2 separate regions of the Homo sapiens genome follow, and region 2 is linked to region 1. Evidence: promoter capture Hi-C in 16 types of primary human blood cells and fetal thymus (Javierre and others, 2016). All regions are on one chromosome and are shown on one strand. The core of a region is centred on a gene start or on the middle of the fragment in contact, and the rest is flanking DNA. Distances in the headings are between cores, read along the strand shown.

Evidence for each region. Contacts are between HindIII fragments. The CHiCAGO score rates a contact against its expected background, and 5 or more counts as called.
Region 2: a fragment that was not itself captured here is called in contact with the fragment with the promoter of SPATA18 in region 1 in 1 of 17 cell types (monocytes); the score reaches 7.8 in monocytes.

Annotation. Positions count from the first base shown.
Region 1 is chr4:52,049,992-52,052,607 of GRCh38, reverse strand. It overlaps SPATA18 (spermatogenesis associated 18), which reads right to left and starts at 1,304. Exons shown (of 13, transcript NM_145263.4): 1 at 817-1,304. The coding sequence starts at 903. RefSeq lists enhancers at 512-861, 654-1,153, 1,154-1,655 and a silencer at 1,032-1,331. The HindIII fragment of the contact is 3,697 bases long and covers 1-1,719 here.
Region 2 is chr4:51,899,225-51,901,840 of GRCh38, reverse strand. DCUN1D4 (defective in cullin neddylation 1 domain containing 4) reads right to left here. Exons shown (of 11, transcript NM_001040402.3): 8 at 2,463-2,571. Among named protein-coding and RNA genes, the nearest start is that of DCUN1D4, 57 kb to the right of the region's middle. The HindIII fragment of the contact is 1,755 bases long and covers 407-2,161 here.

The DNA.
Region 1 (2,616 bases), core at 55-2,554:
TTTCCGGTCCACAGTTCTTTTGCCTGGCCGCTCCACTTATTATGTAAGAGGGGAAATCCCTATTTAAGACGGACCGACCGAATGTAAAGCAAATTCAACACTCACCGTTCTATTTGGGGGAAGGGGGGAATTATGGGGAGGCAGGGTGCGAGTAGGGATTAATGAGATTTGAAAAGTGCTCATGGGTTTGGTGACAGAATACTGGCTTCTCACAAATGCCTGGAAAAAGGCCTGAATCCGCCCTGGTGTTGGAACTGTGCCTCAATTTCCAGGCCCACCAGCACGCAAGTGAAACCCGCAACGTTAACAAGTGTCCGTTTCGCTGATTTCTGGGTAAATAACTCCTGGGTGTGTGTTTATACAAATCCATTCTGATACAAACCCTGGGCAGGAGAGGGTTGTAGTAAAAAATAATTCGGGATTGGGGAAGCAGGCGGTGTGGATTGCGCTGGCAAGGGGGATGGGAAAGAGTGGCAGGCATGACCAGACCAGCCGCGGACAGCAGGGCTTCCCTATTGCTAGGTCGCCGGCGTCCTTAGTTACCACTGATTGGAAGCACTCTCCAGTCTCCGCAGCCTAGTGCTGCGCTCCGCAGGCCGCCTGCGCGCCGCCTCCCGAAGCTCTGAGACAAGGGCATGTACACACATGTCCTTCCTTCCCCAGCGATCCCGGTCGAAAGCTGAGATCCTGGTTAGGAATCGCAACCGCGGAGGCTTTGCAAAGTGGCCACCAACTCCAGCCCTAAGAAATCCCCGACAAGGGCTGTGCTGGAACCTATGGGAGGGCGAACCCCGGGGGTTTTTCACCCAGACTCACGTTGTACTCCTTCAGCCAGAAGTCTAGCTTTTCCTGCAACGTTCGTAAAGTTTCGTTTGAGACCAGTCTTTTCAGGTTTTCCGCCATCGCTCACTATTCCTCTCGGCCCCACGCTGCGCGATGGAGACTTGGGGGGACCAGGCGGTGGCCTCCGCAGGACCGTGGGGTGATATGGCGGGAAGGGTGTTCTCTTCTGGGGGGCTCAGAGCGCGGCAGGTGTTTCCATCCTCCCCCTCGGGTCGGACCTGGCCGGGTTCGGGAAGCCAGAGGGGAGGTGCCCTGGGCCGCAGCCGCCGCGCCTCATCCGCCGTCCCGCGCGGTCTCCTGGCTCCCCAGCAGCCGCCTGAGCCCGGCCATAGATACCCTGGCGATTATTAAACAAACCTTGACGTGGACGGGTTGGCTGCCAGGGACGCGCGCGGCCCGCGTCGTGGCAACGCCCGCGCCGCCCCGCCCTGGGTGACAGCCGCGCGCCCCAGGGGTGGACTGAGACGCGCAGCCGCGCGGGCTGGAGGGCAGCAGGGCGTCTACAGCATTCCTCCCCATTCGGGGTTCTGGGTGCCCACGCGTGTCCAGAAAAGCAGAAGTTAAGTCTCTATAGAAGTTTGGGGCTAGGCTCTCAGGAGATCACCTCTTTGGCCCCTTTATTCTTTCGCCTTTCATTCCTTTAATTCTTCATTTGTAGCGCCTTGGGTTTACCTGTATGAAACTTGTAACTAAAATTTCAGTACTTCTTACTTCTAGCTTTTACTTTGTTCCTTGACCCACTGGGTGGGTACCCAAGTTAATAGAGTTTAGCTCCAGGATGTTCACAAATTAAAGTTAATCCCTCAGGTTTGGATAAGATTTGGCAGTATGTATTTTAGTACTTTTTTTTTTAGAGTCATTGAGCACTCTAAAGCTTCATTTAATTCTGAATTCTCTAATTGGGACTTTCTTGACCTAGTTTGGCACTATTTCAAAAGTGTGTATTCTGCTACAGAAACAGGTTCAACTACTTAGGAAACCATTTCGACCATCTTTAAGCGCTTTCGAAGCAAGCTCTTTTATATACCATCAAAAAATGTGCTGATTATAAATCATTCCTATCCATTCATTAAAACAGCGGTGGGGAGCAGAGCCTCAGCTGGTTAGCTAGCTAGTTTAACTTAGTTTCATCTCTGTAGGTACTTGAAAATCTGTGAACACTGCATATATTCAAGTATTGTAAAATCAAGAATTTTCACCACCTCTCATTTTTTATTTCTCTTGATTACAGTGGCTTTACTATCTGCTAATGAAAATGAAAGGCTCAGTTTTGGAGCCTGTGTTCCTACTATTTTCTGTAGACCACAAAATAAGGACTATAGGGGTATAACATGTTATTTGATTGGAGTAGAATAATAATTTCTAATGTTAAAAATACCCACTCAACAAAACAGCTAAATATTCATTAAACAACTTCATATATATATATATATATATATATATATATATGTAAAATGAATTGAGAAAAACTTCAAATTTCTCAATTTGGACCTAATAATTACATATTTCTACAGGCATTTGGAATCTTTGAACAGTCCCATTTACTTATTCATAAAAACCCATATTGGAACATTTATGTCAGATAAATTAGAGGTAAAGGATTTTTCCTTGCTGTGAGCACCTTAATTAGCCTGTAATCCTTGGTTTCATCATCTGTAAAAGGAAAATAATTCTCTCATAGGATTATTATGAAACTTAGTAAGATAATTCATGTATTTAGTACAATGCTTGGCAAAATGCAGTAGCAATTGCTCTAGTAATTGCTGTTTATTA
Region 2 (2,616 bases), core at 35-2,534, 150 kb after region 1:
TGTTATGTGAAAGGGCTTAATTCACCAATATTAATTGAGACTCTCCTTTAAAACAAAGGATGTACAAAGAAAGAAATTACAGAGTCCCTCAATCTGCCAGGAAAAATTAAGGCCTGTACTCAAACTCCAAAGCCAAGTAGAGGAGACACCAGGGGTATGTAACTGAAACCAGCACAATCCCACCCCGACAGGCTGATCCCTGACAGGCTGACCAGGAGGCTGTGTCGAAGCAGAAGCACATGGCTCAGACCCAGGGCCTGGATGGGTACAACTGTGCTAATGCAAACGGGGCTCTAGGCAAGGGCCCAGCACTCCCAAAGGCAGAATGCAGAGAGGCCAGGAAGCAGGGCCAGTGAGCAACCGTTAGTGCAATTTCATCATAATGCAGGCGTTGAGTGGGGAAGCTTGGGACTTAGTTGTGAGGGTCTGGAGTAACCCACATACTAGACTTGGAGACAGAAGGCCTAGGTTTGAGTCATGGATCTACTATGAACAACGTGGCCATTTCTCCCCTTTGCTGAAGCGCACTTTCTTACTCTGTAAAGTGGACTGAAACCACCCCGGCTGTCCCTCAGAGCTGACATGGGAACAACTGTGTCGTATACACAGGGAAGTGCTGGGTCGATATAAACACAGTGGGGAGGTACTAGAGGCTGTGGGGAGCAGGAAGGTGGCTGAGTGACCCAGGGGCTGAAGGAAGACGAATGACACCCTAGTGATGTGAGCACAGGGTAAGAAGTGAAAGAATGTGGACATGAGGCTACCAGAAGAGGGCTGGTAAGGAGAAGCAAGGCCTCCACCGGTGAGGCTGCAGTGGAGGCACCAAGAAAAAGGTGGCCAAAGAGCACTCATGAGATGTGCCAGGGTGACTGCCCCAGAACAGGACGTTAGCCAGGGAGGAGTAAAGCAGAACCTAGATCTAAAGCACATTGGATATCTGGGAGAACTGTGACTCCCCCAGTCAAGGAAGTTAGAAAATAGAGCTGATTTGGGTAGAGAAGGTATGATGTTTCTAAATGAATTTCTACCCATACTATAAGAAACAGCTGACTTTGGGAGGAAAAAAAAAACTCATGAAATAAACTATATAATCCTAGAAACCAGTCAACTATTCTAAAAGCATCTAGCAAAAAAAAGCATCTGGCAAATAACTTCCTTTTTCTTTTTTTAACCTCGAACTCCTGTTCTTAAGCAATCCTCTTACCTCAGCCTCCTGAGTAGCTAGAACTATAGGCACCATATCTGGCTAATTTTTAAATTTTTTTATTTGTTTTGTATAGAGACAGGGTATGTTACCCAGGCTGGTCTCAAACTTCTGGCTTTAAGTGATCTTTCTGCCTCAGCCTCCTAAAGTGCTGGGGTTACAGGTATGAGCCACTGCATCTGGCCTGGCAGGTAACTTTTATATATTATTATGCAAATGCCATTTTATCAAACACTGTATCTGAATTTCACCTTATCGTTTTTAACATCAATAAATTTCTATGCATGGTGTGATTTAACTAGAAGGTTGTAATAATAGGAAAATGCATGAATGAGGGCACCACAGAGAACGTTATTGCAAGATGCATCAAAATTCACCATCAAATAAACCTTTGGTGCTGAACTGGCAGAGCCAAAGAGAGTAAAAAGTGAAAAAAATCAATATGGTGGTAAGGAAAAAAGAATAAATTGTCACCGAGTTCTCTGCCTTAAAAAAAAATAATTTAAAAAAGTGCAATCAAACAAGAAAGCCTAGTCACCTGAATCCACTAAACAAACAGACCTAACAGAAAACATCATTTCAGAATAAATTGTAATTGTATGGGATATAGATTTTGTTTGAATTGAGTATGATGCCAACTGGTGCTTCAAAATTCTCTATGTATGGTGACTAGGCTGAAAAGTAAGATTTTTATTTCACTCCAAGGGAACCACTTTCACATACTTCGACTTGACTCACTATGTGACAAATAGGGTAACTGCTTTTCAAAACGATGATTAGAAAAATACATTTAAGTAATGTATTACATTAAGTAATGTAAGAAATTAGCTTACGTCTAAAATTCACATGATTTCCAAATACAATAATAGCACCCACGGTGAATCTGAATTAGATATGATTAGCTTATTCTAGTAAACTCAACAGGAGAAGGTTTGTTGTTCTGTGAGAAGGAAAGCTTTTCCAACCTTATCTAAGAGACATTTAAGACAGTGTGTATTGCATGCCCATGTCACTTTTAAGCCAATTCCAAGAGCCAGTAAACGTCTGCCACTAGAGCTTTTTGCTGACCTACAGAATGTTTGACCAGAATCAAACTTAGTTTTCAAAAGCATACATGTAGAAAGAAATACTAACTAGCATCCTGGGAGTTAACTTATTCAAGTTTTTTTGCTGTGGCATGTAAAAACTAACCTCAAAAGGCAATTTAAAAAGGGGAGGGAAGAGAGGGAAACATCTGGATAGGCTCCAGAGAACTCACCCGTGCAAAGTCAAACGCATATCTGTAAATAAGTTTAAAGTTTGTAGAATCATTTAAGAATGATCTTAAGTAATCCAAAGTATTTCTGAGTTTTTCTGTTGTATCACATCTAGAAAAACAGAATAAAGGCAAATTATGACCTGAGTTCATTTAT